5 separate regions of the Homo sapiens genome follow, and all the other regions are linked to region 5. The links are contacts of gene promoters, found by promoter capture Hi-C in blood cells and fetal thymus (Javierre and others, 2016). All regions are on one chromosome and are shown on one strand. The core of a region is centred on a gene start or on the middle of the fragment in contact, and the rest is flanking DNA. Distances in the headings are between cores, read along the strand shown. Region 1 overlaps SRSF11 (serine and arginine rich splicing factor 11). Region 2 has its middle 2.0 kb from the start of CTH. Region 3 overlaps ZRANB2-AS1 (ZRANB2 antisense RNA 1). Region 4 holds the start of HS2ST1 (heparan sulfate 2-O-sulfotransferase 1). Region 5 holds the start of ZZZ3 (zinc finger ZZ-type containing 3).

Region 1 (2,700 bases), core at 143-2,642, 7.4 Mb after region 5:
ATGAATCTTTCCCTTTACTACCCTCAAGAAAACTCCTAATTTCTAGTAATTCTTTTAATTGATGACAAAATGTTAGAAATACTAAGCTTGAGAAAAAACTGATTTAACAAAACTAATGCGAGAGGGGTGACGTGTGAAGTAAACTATTACTGAAGAAGTTAGTTTTTGGTTCAAACATTCAGTGTTCAGAGTAAGTACAGAATAATTCAATAATGTGATATAGAAGGTAGTTACTAATAAAATATCCCCACATTCACCTTTAAATCATTAGATGAAATTCAGAGAACTAGTTAGTGGAAAGGTAGAAACCTTATACTCTAGCAAAATCGCCCTCCTGCAGTCCCCCAAAACCCTGCTTTCACCAATTACTTTGAAGATATACAGCTGATATACAGCCTTCCCCTCCTTTTTACTGTAACTTAAAAAAAAAAATTCTGTTCCTGATTCTCAAAAGTTATCAGACTTAAAAAACCCTGTACTTAGTTGTCTAATTTCCAAATGAAGCTTTTTTTCTACTTACACAGCCCTCTGTGACCCTTGTCCTGGAAACGTTACACATAACTGAGCATTCACTTATCAAACATTGTCACGACTGTGCACCTTATACTTTTTGCTACTGTCTTATGTAACTGAAACTCCAAATTCTCTAGACGGAAGAAGTATTTTATATTACATTTCCGTGTCCTTCAACAGACTGTAGCACAACTACAAACACAGTGGGTATTTAATAACTCACAGAAGATGCCTTAATTTAGAGTGATCCAATAATACAGCATGAGAAGGCACTTACAAGTACATTATATAAAGCAACAGGTAAAAAAAAAAATCCTCAACAGTTTTTAAGGTAAGAAAATATATGTAGTACCTTCCATCTTTTCTATCTCTTTGCCACCTATCCCTCAGGCCTGATTCAGCATTTCCTTCTGTACTTACATTTGGTTTCATTTTCATGCTTAAAAATTTAGTTTTTAAGAAAATTTTCACCACCCCAAAAACTCCCTACCCTTTAGTTATCACTCTAATCCTCCCTATCTCCCCAGCAATCAGTAATCTACTTGGTATCTTTATAGATTTGCCTATTCTGGGCATTTCATATAAAAGGAATCACGCAATACACGGCCTTTCATGGATGTTTGCAAGTTTCATCCATACTGTAGCATGTATCAACCTTATTTATCACTGAAAAATATTCAATTGTATAGATATACCATTCTGTTTATCCATTTGTTAATGGATAGTTAACTTTTTGGCTATTATGAAATAATGCCACAAACATTCACATAAAAGTTTTTCTGTGAAAATGTTTTCATTTTCCCCCAGGGGTACAACTGGTGGGTCAAAAACCTCTATGTTTAACATTTTTAGGAAATGCCAGACTGTTTTCTAAAACACCTGTACCAGTTTATATTCATACTAGCAATGCACAGGGTTCTAATTTCTCCACATCCTAATCAACACTTACTATCATCTGTCAGGCTCAGCTATCATCTGTCTTTTTGATTTATAACCATCCTAGTGACTGTGACATATCTCACTGTGGTCTGGTTTGTATTTCCTTGGTGACTAATGATGTTGAACAGATTTTATGTACTTACTAGATATTTGCATATCTCCTTTGGAGTAATGGCTACAGATTCTTTGCCATTTTTAAATTGGGTTGCCTGTCTATTGCTGAGTTCTAAGAGTTCTTAATAGAGAATATATAAAGAATTTTCTAACTAGCACTCTAGGTTTTTACTTTCTTGATAGTATCCTTTGAAATACAAATGTTTTAACTTTTGGTGAATTCCAAAATTTTCTTTTCTTCTGTTGCTTATGCTTTTGAAGTCATATCTAGGAAACCACCAAGCTCATGGTCTTAAAGATTCACTTTTGTTTCTTTCTAAAGGTTTTATAGTTTTGGCTCTTACATTTAGGTCTTTTATACATTTCAGTTATTTTTTTTTATATGGCATGAACCTTCTCCTAGTGAATTTAAGTAATGTTGATGAATAAAACAAGCACTGCAGCAAAACATGTGAATGAGATCTGAAAAATGGAATGAAGTCCAGCCCTTACTATCATATAAATCCCAAATTAAGTATGAAAATGTGCTTTTTGTGCAGTAAGGTCTGCAACATTTCAATTTTCACTGACAGCTTAAAGATAGAATTAGTCTAAGAATGACACAAACCAGAACCTGCATTGCTTCCCATTAATTCAACAGTCATTAAAAGGGATAGAAAAATTCTCAAGTACTAACATGCAGATGATAAATATAGCTTACTATAATAAGCTTACTTAATGGAACAATTCAGTATGGTTTAGCCATTAAAACTTAAACTATAAAGAGAAAAACTCACCTCTCTTGAATTCCATGTTACTTCAAATATACTCTAGACCATAAAATATTAAGTAAAAAGAAAAATAAACTACATTATTCTTCACAAATTGCCTTTTAAAAACTTTAAATAACAGCAAAATGTAACTTTTTTCAACACTGAAATACTTATGTTCTGGAAAAGACTTCATACTGACAGCGTACTGATACTGTTAGAAGCAAAGTTAAAAAAATAATTGCCAAGAATTCACAATGCCACCTTACCTGCTTGCACTTCTAGAACGTCTGGCTGTGCTGTAACTTTTTGGTGGTGTTTTAGAACGTTTCTTTTCTTTGTCTTCTTTCTTTTTGTCTCTAACAAATGAACACAATTTATGAAT
Region 2 (2,700 bases), core at 88-2,587, 7.3 Mb after region 5:
GGACGTCTATGCACAACTCTGGCAGCTTCCTAAAAGTTAGTCAATCTTGAGCTTTTTCAAGCATCATTATCTTCTTTTAAAGTACAGAGAGAAACTCCCCCTAATGAGAAAGATAATGTGGCTTTGAAATACTTACTGGAGCCTAACATCCTTACACAAAATGCTTTTGCTTTTACACAACAGCAACATCCCTGCAGGAAAAAGGATTGTTTACCACTCACCTGCGCCCAGAGCCCTACTCTCAGAAGAATCACTGCTTTAAAACAAAAATCTCCCTGTTCCCTAAGCAATACAGACTTGACCTACTTACTATTGTGGCTGTTTTCTAGCACCAGGAAATTTGGGGATATTTCTGTTGTTGCAAAATATTCGCTAAAGATCTAAAACTTTATTAAACAAATTAAGAACAAGGAGAATAAGGAATAAACAGCTCTTAAAATTTACAGTTTGAAAGAAAGATATGAAGAGAAAGAATGAGGCAATTTGCTTTTCAAATTAGCTTTAGGGACATTTAACCCATTAAGCACTAGAGGAGTGGTGCTTGAGGGCCTACAAGCTTTTAGAATCCTACCAAACTTTGTATGGCTGGGGGAAAAAATGGATAGACTTCAAAACACTAATGTATATTAATACATATTTAATTAATATTTTTCTTTTAAAAATATAACATCAACTGCAACTCACCTCAATATTTATGTATAACTATAGGTGGGTATTTTTGTGTAATATGATATGGCATTTAGGGGCCAAAAGGGTCTAAAACAGTTCCAATTAGTTTTACCTCCTAATATTTGCTGACAAACCCTGAGTTGCATAAATACAGACATTTTATTTAGTGTACTGTAATAAAGAATCATTCAGAAGACAGCACTAGGCTGGGTGCATTGGCTAACGCCTATTAATCCCAGCACTTTGGGAGGCCGAGGTGGGCGAATCACCTGAAGTCAAGAGTTCGAGACCAGCCTGGCCAGCAGGGTGAAACCCCATCTCTACAAAAAACACAAAACTTAGCTGGGCGTAGTGGTGCACACCTGTAATCCCAGCTCCTTGGGAGCCTGAGACAGGAGAATCGCTTGAACCCAGGAGGCGGAGGTTGCAGTGAGCCGAGATCATGTCACTGCACTACAGCCTGGGCCACAGAGTGAGACTCCATCTCAAAAAAAAAAAAAAAAAAGATAGCACCCAATACAAATGCTATAAATCAGGCCTTTTTTACTCTCTTAAACTGAGAAAACTTTATTGGATGCAGCTTAATATGTATCAAGGATTTAAAATATCCCCTTTCTATGACTCAGCAATTTCTTTTGTAGAAAATTTTACTTGCAGGAATTTATCCTTTAGATATATTCTTAATATGTGTACAGAGATGAGCAAGGATGCTTTTTAAACCTACGTTACTATTTTTAATAGCAAAAGAGTGAAAAATGGCTTAATTATTCATTCTTAAAAGACTGGTTAACTGGTTATGATACTACTCTGTGATGGCTACAGTATGGCCAAGAAGCAGGAAGAGATTGAGATGTGCTGGTATGTCAGAGTCTCGCTCTGTTACCCAGGCTGGAGTGCAGTGGTGCCATTTCGAATCACTGCAACCTCTGCCTCCAGGTTTCAAGAGATTCTTCTGCCTCAGCCTCCCAAGTAGCTGGGACTACAGATGCAGCCACCATGTCTGGCTAATTTTTGTATTTTTAGTAGAGATGGGTTTCACCATGTTGGCCAGGCTGGCCTCGAACTCCTTGCCTCAAGTGATCCACCAGCCTTGGCCTCCCAAAGTGCTGGTATTACAGGCATGAGCCACCACACCTGGCCTATTGATCTCTAATATCTAAGACAGCAAAGCAAAGTAACGTATACATCATGCTTCCACTTTTTCAAAAGAATATATACTATGTTGCATTATTTTCAGACAGATATTTATGATTTCATATGTATAAAAATCCTTCTGGTCATAGAGACTATGGATCTGCAGTGGAAAGGTGATTTTCTTTACATTTTATTCTCTTTTGTGTTCAAGTTTTATATCATGGGCACATATTACCTTTTCAACAATAATAATACTACCAAAAACCCTAATTTAAACATTTTAGAAAGACAACTGTATTTAGAAAAAAAGCTTTTTAAATGATTAAATGATAGCCACTTTAAATCCAATAAATGGTATATAGTTTGAGGTGTGTGCTAATTTTTCATATAAATTATGTTGCATACAACAAAATATCATAACACTTACAGAAGAATTATTAATTCTTCTTGGGAAGGAGATTCAGCAAAAGCAGATATTTTAGAGGAAATGGGAAACTTCTCATTTTTTATATTTCTTTACTGTTTGATCCTTTTATAAAACACAGAGTACATTATTTTATAATAAGTACTTCTTAAACACTATGAAAATAGCACTGTACTTCTTGTGTTTATGCACAAAGACCTCTACTATTCTCATTAAAGGCAGGCTATGAATAAAGATACCGTGACTGAATATCAAAACAGTGCAATCGGGACTTGGGAGGGATGTTCATAAAATATATTATTATTATTATCAAGCATAAACATACGCAATTATTAGATCTGTTTTGTTTTACCTCAAAAGAAAACAATTTGTTCATCCTTGGGCTTTTGTCAATGAAATAATGAGAATTATGAAGGGAATTTGGGGATCAGGGGAAAGAAGATATTACAATATAAGATCTAAATTTGGTAGAC
Region 3 (2,700 bases), core at 38-2,537, 6.6 Mb after region 5:
AAGTGCTAGGATTATAGGTGTGAGCCACTACGCCTGGCCTGTATCTCCCTTCACATGTCAGACAGCCAATTTTACTGTATTTAAATTCTTCCTAAATCCTCTATTCACCAAACCTGTATCTCATGTTGTATTTCATATTGATAAACATCATTATCAGTACTTGATAATCCTCTTAGATTTCCTTTTTGTGAACACTACCACTGCTTTGATTTGTGGGCTAGGATATTGTAGTTTCTTCCTAAATGGTCATTTGGCATTTAGTAGGATTTCAGTAATATTTGCTAAATGAATTTTTTTCACCAAGCATTGATCACTTCATCACTGATGCTAGAATGCTCTTAACTAACGAGCATTTCATTTCATGTTATTTCTTTGTTTAAACCCTTTCAGTGCCTTTTCATGGCTTTCAGAATTCAACTACAATCCTTATGCATATAGTAAAAAGTTCAGGGGTTTTTTCCAGGACTCACACTACCCCCACCTCCCAATTCTAACCTACTTAGGTGCACAGAACCTATACACTAGCTACGTTAACTATGCTGAACTACTAATAGGCTTTCATCTTAGTACAAGTTTCTTATACCTGGGATACCCTACACATACCCCACTACCATTTCTTTTTTCATTTAGCTTTCATGACTCAATTCAGAACACTAGGATGCCATCCCTGATGCCTCTTCCCTTTCAATGGGAATTGGGTGAAACTCCTAAAAGTTTCTCCTTCCCCAGTATCCCTCTCCCTTAGCATAGTGTTTGTCATTATAGCAAGCACTCAAATGTTTGATGAGGGTCAATATCTGTTACCTTTCTCAAAGAGGTTTTGATCAGTTGTATTTTTTCCTCATTACTGATAGAATAAATGTTCTTCGCTGGAAAGCATTCTTTGATTGTGAAAGGAGTTTTTATTCTGAAATTAAAGCTTTGTAAGACCATTGTAGGAGAAACTTTTCTTTTTTCTTTTTAAATATTTATTTTAGAGACAGGTCTCACTATGTTGGCCAGGCTGGTCTTAAACTCCTAACCTTAAGTGATCCTCCTCCAGCCTCCCAAAGTGCGGGGATTATAGGCATGAACCACCATGCCCAGCTTTTTTCTGTTTCTTAAGTCCAAGGAGGCCATTTCTTCATAAGCTGAAAAAACTTTGAAGTTATCTGTCCAGCCATCCTTCAGGAGAGGGTAGAACATGTAAATAAACCTTATTGTCCTCAATTTTCTACTTAAAGTATGCCAACTTATATTTTATTACACACAACTAAGATAGGTTGAGAAAGAGCAGCCTCACTGGCATACATTTTGAAATTAGATTATTTGTATATCACCAAGGACAGAAGCACAAAAAATTACTATGCTGGAAGTAAGACTTGGGGTCAACTATTGGCTTTCTTCCTAACATGCTGTGTGATCCTCTGCAAAAATATTAACCTAAGGGACTTCACTATGGATTGGTAAATTGAGTTCCCTATAAATGTATGATCCTGAAGTAAGTGCATTGGGGTGCATCATTGGCAAAATAAGCAACAAATCAAAAAGTAATTTACCTAACTTGGAGGAGCAGATGATAGAGTTCAAAATGCTTTGTTAGGTTAAAATACTACGAACAGGCATATCATGTACTAGGTAGAACCGAATTTTATAAGTATAGTTAAAAAGCTTTCAAACAAGAAAATATAAAATACATTATTGCTTGATAACTAGACCAGTAGATTTTTACTGATAAATTGTTTGGACATTTATTTTGGCTTATATACATAACACTAACTGTAAATGAGCTATTTCTGTGAAAACACCTAAAAGTCAAAACTAAAATGGAAGTGTTCAGTTTGGATGAAGCAAATCCAGTTAATTATGGTCTATCCTCGTATTAACTCTTAGTGACACTGTTACCTCTAATCTAGCTGTTGACTGTGAACCTGTCAAAAATGTTGCTTTTTCAGCAATTATTTCCATGTATCAAAATTCTGATCAGGGAAAACAAGTTATCTGTATTCTTATAATTTGAATAATGTATTAGAGCCTAAGAATTTTAATGTGGTATCAGCAACTGTGACACAAGATTGTGTTGCCCTATATCACACTCACAATTATGTCTCCTGTTCCTTATTATTGATTCCTTAGAATCACAAAAAGGGAAAGGTTAAGGAGAATGTAGTTAATTCTACCAGAAGAAACTACCTCAGTATTCTCAGGCTGCACCCATAGTACCTGTGGCACTAAAATCTTAGGATAGAAGAGTGCTAAGAAGGAAGAAAGAATAATAAAAATAATGTTTTGTGTTTTTTCCTCATATTAGTGATAATGAAAATGTGTTTAAATTCAGGCCTCCCATAAAGTATTGCGTATCATAAAGTCTAAGGCAGGTACCTGACCGTGAAAAACTACATTTTGAAGCACTGATGACTGATAAGAGAGACACAAAATGTTTAACCTGTAATTTTGGTGAAGCCATTGGAAATTAGCAAACCTACACTATGTTTTCTCTACATTTGGAGACTATTCATCTGTTAATGTAGATGCAAAAGAAAGTCTTATTCAAGGACTCCAAAGACATATTTAACACAATATTAAACATTGAACCTGCATTTTAAGCACCACTGCATTCTGGTATCATTGCTTAGTGCCCTTTTGATTATATTTGCTGGGGCTATTTGAATCAGTATGATCTATTTTTGTAAAATCCTTAATTTTTTTAATTAGAGGATA
Region 4 (2,700 bases), core at 1-2,500, 9.2 Mb before region 5:
GTGAAGCAACATACATAGGCATCCCTATTCTCAAGCCCCAATTCATCAGTTTAGCGCCACTAAAGAAGAATTTAAATCTCCGGACCCTCATTTCCGTACTCCGATGAAGCTTTGCACTCGCGTTCCCGCACTACCCGGCCAGCCTCCCTCAGCTGGCAATTACAAGGTCCTTTGCTGCCCGGAGCACAAGAGTGCAACTCGCTACAGTGTTCACATGTTGCTCTCCGTCATCCCAGCATCTCCTCCCATTTCTGCGCACCTATCCCTTCATGAGCCCCCAAAAGAATTCGTATCCAGATGCCCATAGCTCAAATTAGAATACCCCTCATCTGACATTGCCAGGGCTTCCTGTACGACTTCCAAGAGAACACGCGATGCTAAGCGCTTCTGTCTCCGGAGACCAGCAACACACGCTCCCCACTGAGTTCGGTCTTCTCTCTCGCTCTCTCTCCGCGGAATGCCTACTTCGGGGCTACCCTTTGGCTAGGGAAGCCCAACCTTGCAACCTCTGCCCCGTGACCTCGCGAGCCCAGCACGCCGCTCAAGCTTAATTCAACCCATTCTTGGAGCTCGTGCTCTCGCTGCCCCTTGTTCCCGGTTCTCTTTGAAACCGCTTTCAGCCCCCGAGCCAGACCCCAGGTTAGATGAACGCCCACTTGCTCCGGCGGCAGCGCCTCCTCGGCCCCTTCCACAGCACTCAGCCCGGGGCAGTTCAGTTCCTCACCTAGCTTCGAGCGGGACTCCTCCAGTTTCTGGATCTGGTTTTCCAAGAAGAGCATCGCCACCGCGAAGGCCACCACCGCCAGCAGCTGCAACTTGGGCGGCATCATAATCCTGAGGAGCCCCATGAAACCCGCTGCTCGGGATCAAGACATACCGCGGGGGGCGGGGAGCGGGACCCCGGAGGCGAGAGAGACGCCGGGAGGAGCCCGCCGAGCCGGGAGCGAGGCAAAGAGAGAGCGACAGCGAGAGAACCACCGCAGCGACCCCCCTTCTCGCCTCTCCAGTCCCCCTCCCCCAGGCGCTATCACCAACGCCGCTGGTGTCCGCTTCTCCTCAGCCGACTAAACGGCCGCCCCCTCCAAAAGCCCGCGCAGCAAACAGCGCGAAGCGGCTGCCGGGCTCTCGCCTCCCTCTACTGCCTCAGTCCCCGACCCCCGCGCCCGCCTGCTTGCCCGCCTCCCTCTCTTCCTTCCTTCCCTCCCTCCTTTGCTCGCGGCCGCGCGCCCCTCCACCGGCGCTGCGGCTGCGCCGCCCTCATCCCCGCCCCCGCCCATCCCCCTCCGCCACCACGCGCACGCATCCGCGTACGCTGCTCGGCAACCAGAAGCCCCGCCCCTCCCCCCGTTCGGGTCCGCTTATTGGACGGAAGAGCCCCTGCGCTTCGCTCTTGGTTCGGTTTACGGTTGGTTTCCTCTGCCACAGAGCTCAATCAAGACGACATTCAATTGGGTAAACTTGGAGAAGAAGGCGGGGCTAAAACTGGCGAAGGCGTGGCTTCTTGGCTGCTTGACGAAGTGTCGTGAATAAAAGAAAGGAGACCGCAGAAGTAAAGAAGTGGGGAGTTTAGGCAAGTGCCTGATTTGGGTAATCGAAAGCACCCAGTGATTGTATTTGATGACTTTTAAGCTTTCATATGCCGTTATTTAATACCTGTCACTTCCAAATGAGAGATGTAAGGGCAACGGCCGTTAGCGTTCTGTTTTGGATCAGGCTCTGGAGTGGACGCCCCTAGCTTAGGGGTCCTTCTAGGCAGCCAGAAACCTGCGGAAAATGGTAGCGATGGCGGCTGGGCCGAGTGGGTGTCTGGTGCCGGCGTTTGGGCTACGGTTGTTGTTGGCGACTGTGCTTCAAGCGGTGAGTGTAGATCACCTTCGCAGCTGCCACAGGGAGAGTAGGAGTGATTGCAGCTGAGAAAGACGCAACATTCGGTCCTGGTTGAAAAGGGTGGGGAGGACTGCGCTTCCTTAATGACTGCTGCGGCCAGAATGCAACGTGGCTTAATTTCTCGGTTGATCCTTCTCCTTCCCCGCCTTGGGTTTCTAGCAGCAGTTTTCTCTTGATTTCAGATTGTCTTGGGTACGTAGCTTCTCTTATACGGCTCTTGCTAAAAACAATCTGTAAACCACACCAGGTGGGAGGGGGGAATAATAAAGCTTGGCAAGAAGTGGAGGTTGTTTTTAAATGGACAGAAATGCAAGAGACTCATGACGAGACTTCCAACTCTTAGAGGCAAGTCTTCAAGTCGTTGGTCCAGGCGAACAGTTTGTGTTTACCTCTCTCGCGCGCGTGCTCTCTCATTTTCACTACTTCTGTTAGTCTCTTAACTTCCGTTCTCCTCTGCTATTCATATACGGCTGGCTGCGCTTGAGTGCGATTTGTGCTTTTAAACAATGTTGTTGGAGTAAAAGGAGTTATCTATACCAAAGTATAATTCATTTTTGAAGTTAGTTTTTTAAATGATGTTCGTTGTCTTCTTTAAGGCAGCGTTTTTTATTTCATTTTTCTCTATTGGCAGAATAGATGGGTGACCTTTGAATGGGAAAAGTGTACTTTTAACTTATTTCTTCTCATATCCATGTTCTGCTGTGTGAATAGTAAAATTTTAGGCACAGTGCTGAAAGCTTTTACGTTTTTTTATCCTAGCTTAATTCTTCGGGTAGTCTCTAATAAGGAGACCTGGTTTAATTTACTTATCCA
Region 5 (2,700 bases), core at 37-2,536:
TGGAGGAAATGTTCTGCCAGAGAAATCGGCAAGCACAAAGGCCCGAAGTGGTTCGAGCCTGCGTGCTGTGGTACAAGCCAGAGGTGAACGAGGCGAGGCAGAAGCACGATCATAAATACATGTATGGATGTTCTCCTGGCTTGAGACCACAGTGCTAAGGGAGGTGGGGTTTACAAATCTCTCAGGAGGCCACAAAGGGCAGGATGAAGCCGATTTCCAATGGCGGAGCTACGAGGACGCCTTTCCTCTGCTAGGGCCAGGTTGGACGGTTGCAAGGGATGGACTGCAACCCGCCCTCGGAAGACCAAACTTCGCCCAGGGGCAGGGACTGGCCGGGGAGGGCCTCGGCGGCGCCCGACCCGCGGGCGCTGCACGGGCCGCGGTTACCAGCAGGCGGTGTAGTGAGCGCGCCTGCAGCAGCAGCAACAGCAGCAGCAGCGGTCGCCGCCGCCGCCGCCGCCCGCCAGTCCCAACGAGGAGAAAGGAGGGGACCGGAAGGAGCCGCTGGTGCTGCGGGAAGTGGCAGGAGCGGGAGGCGGGGACCCACCTGGAAGCGCCGCGGCGCCGCTATCGAGCTTCCTGCAGCGGTGGCCACCCGAGCAAGTGCCGTGGCGGGGGCGGAGAGCGGCCACGGCGGCGGCGCCTCCCCAAGTGGCCCGTTGCGTCCGACCCCGCGTGAAAGGTGAGCAAGAGCTCGGGACACGTGGTGAGGGCCAGACACGGGGGAGGGAGAATGAAGGGGGAGGGAATGGGGGTGGGAAACGATCGGCTTGGGACCCGGATTTGGAGCCAAGTACCGGGAGGGGGTGGGCTGGAGGCGACGACTGCGACGGCTGCGACGGCTGCGACGGCGAAGCCCCCACGTGGGGCGGGGGTGCGCGCGCACGTGTGCGCGGGCGAAAGGGGGGGCGGGGAGGGCTTTTGGGAGGGCGTCGGGAGCGCGCTCGCTCAGTAGCGGCCCACGTGACGGGCACGCCGAAAATGTTTCCACGTGACAGGGAGGCTGCCTGGGGCAGCGCACTGCGCTCTGTTTATGTAGTATAATCGTGGTAATCGGAGGTTTTTAAGATTTCTGCTTTTCTGTACAAGGGGAAAGGAGGAGACGTATAAAGCGGAAAGACTTCCTACTGTCTCAGTGTTTTAAATGTTCACTACTCCGTTAGTGAAGTGCTTTTTAAGTTCCGAAATACTGATTTTTTTCTGTACCGCCATGTTGGGTCTAGTGGAAGCTCGCGAGATGCGAGTGGGTTTGTATCGCGAGATCTCTCGATTCTCGCGGGACCTCGTTGGCAGAGCAGTTGTCCTGGATGGCGGAGCCTTGGGTTCCGGGGGCCTGGGACCTGCAACTCTTTCTACAAGGCAAGTCGTTAGGGAGGGGCCCGGGGCGAGTGCCTCTTGGTGCCGGGATACGTGCTGCATCAGCTTCCCATAGTCTTGAAGGGAATACAGTAACCCCATTGAGGCAACACTGCCCTCCCCATCCCCCTGCGGGCGCTCCACCACCTGCAAAAGCATATGCACCCCTCAGCCAGGTCCTTCTCCCCACGCAGTGATAGTTCCACCCTGTCCCACTCACTGGAAGTCCGGGAGCCGTGCTCGCGCAGACCTGATGATTCCATTGGATACCGTTCCTCTTACTTTAAGATGTTCTTGTCAGTTTTTCCCTTCTTGCCATTTTCTAAAGTATTCCAGACCGGTTAACTATTGTGTCGCGTTTTCTGCTGCAGTACCTGACTCCAGTCTCCTGAAACAGAACTCCTCCCATCTATTTTCTCTGGGTGTCATTTACTCATCACCCTGACTTCGTATTTTCAGTAACTTTTGGCAGTATTTGGAGGGCCCATTATGTCTCTGACAACACCTGTGGTCAGAATAAAATCCTGCTTTTCATCATTTTGTACGTGCCTATTAACTCAGTTATCGGTAGGGTTTTAATTACTACTGTGTTACTGAGGTTGCCATCTTTGAAGTTTAGGGATGGTTGTTTTAGGTTATATATTTAAGGTAACAGACTGTTTCATGTGATTTTTTTTTTTTTTTTTTTGAGACGGAGTCTCGCTCTTGTCGCCTAGGCTGGAGTGTAGTGGGGCGATCTCGGCTCATTGCAACCTCCGCCTCCCGGGTTCAAGCGATTCTCCTGCCTCAGCCTCTCGAGTATCGAGTAGCTGGGATTACAGTCGCGCTTCACCACGCCCGGCTAATTTTTGTGTTTTTAGTAGAGACGGGGTTTCACCATGTTGGCCAGGCTGGTCTCAAACTCCTGACCTCAAGTGATCCACCTGCCTTGGCCTCTCAAAGTGCTGGGATTTCAGCACTGTACAGGCGTGAGCCACCGCGCCCGGCCTCAGGTCAACTTTTTAGTAAAGAGCAAACTCATAAATTTTGGCATCAGAGTTTGAGCTTTATTTTTCTTAAATGAGTTTGAAATCAATTTAATATTTCTCTCCAATTCCCTAATGTCTCAGAAGTGAATTTACAGTATACCTTTGTTTTTTCGTATTCTTAAGTAGTATTTGGATTTTATTTAGTAGTTGCAGTACTAAATAAGGAGTGGGGAGTTAATTACAAAACGAATCAGGTGACTAGTTAATTTATTCATAGTTTGTTTTTTAAAACTACAAAAGTGTTTTTTTTTCCTATACATAATACAGAGAGGTATATAGTATAGAGTAACACAGTGCTTGTTTCACGGTACCACAA

Evidence for each region. Contacts are between HindIII fragments. The CHiCAGO score rates a contact against its expected background, and 5 or more counts as called.
Region 1: a contact is called between a fragment that was not itself captured here and the fragment with the promoter of ZZZ3 in region 5, in 1 of 17 cell types (total B cells). The highest score is 6.0, in total B cells.
Region 2: a fragment that was not itself captured here is called in contact with the fragment with the promoter of ZZZ3 in region 5 in 1 of 17 cell types (total B cells); the score reaches 5.6 in total B cells.
Region 3: a contact is called between a fragment that was not itself captured here and the fragment with the promoter of ZZZ3 in region 5, in 1 of 17 cell types (naive B cells). The highest score is 5.2, in naive B cells.
Region 4: the fragment with the promoter of HS2ST1 here is called in contact with the fragment with the promoter of ZZZ3 in region 5 in 5 of 17 cell types (naive CD8 T cells, non-activated CD4 T cells, naive CD4 T cells and 2 more); the score reaches 11.5 in naive CD8 T cells.

What each region holds. Positions count from the first base shown.
Region 1 is chr1:70,246,792-70,249,491 of GRCh38, reverse strand. It overlaps SRSF11 (serine and arginine rich splicing factor 11), which reads right to left. Exons shown (of 12, transcript NM_001350605.2): 9 at 2,585-2,674. Among named protein-coding and RNA genes, the nearest start is that of SRSF11, 27 kb to the right of the region's middle. The HindIII fragment of the contact is 1,771 bases long and covers 507-2,277 here.
Region 2 is chr1:70,407,928-70,410,627 of GRCh38, reverse strand. No RefSeq gene overlaps it. Among named protein-coding and RNA genes, the nearest start is that of CTH, 2.0 kb to the left of the region's middle. The HindIII fragment of the contact is 1,557 bases long and covers 559-2,115 here.
Region 3 is chr1:71,056,841-71,059,540 of GRCh38, reverse strand. The region is part of intron 2 of ZRANB2-AS1 (ZRANB2 antisense RNA 1); the gene reads right to left. Among named protein-coding and RNA genes, the nearest start is that of MIR186, 9.5 kb to the left of the region's middle. The HindIII fragment of the contact is 731 bases long and covers 922-1,652 here.
Region 4 is chr1:86,913,185-86,915,884 of GRCh38, reverse strand. HS2ST1 (heparan sulfate 2-O-sulfotransferase 1) reads right to left here and starts at 1,250. Exons shown (of 7, transcript NM_012262.4): 1 at 725-1,250. The coding sequence starts at 848. SELENOF (selenoprotein F) reads left to right here and starts at 1,759. Exons shown (of 5, transcript NM_004261.5): 1 at 1,759-1,857. The coding sequence starts at 1,774. RefSeq lists enhancers at 1,510-1,629, 1,680-1,839, 1,233-1,847, 1,950-1,999, 1,848-2,462. The HindIII fragment of the contact is 1,083 bases long and covers 549-1,631 here.
Region 5 is chr1:77,681,244-77,683,943 of GRCh38, reverse strand. It overlaps ZZZ3 (zinc finger ZZ-type containing 3), which reads left to right and starts at 1,286. Exons shown (of 15, transcript NM_015534.6): 1 at 1,286-1,359. RefSeq lists enhancers at 31-130, 1-333, 1,151-1,230 and silencers at 281-340, 351-770. The HindIII fragment of the contact is 10,120 bases long and covers 1-2,700 here.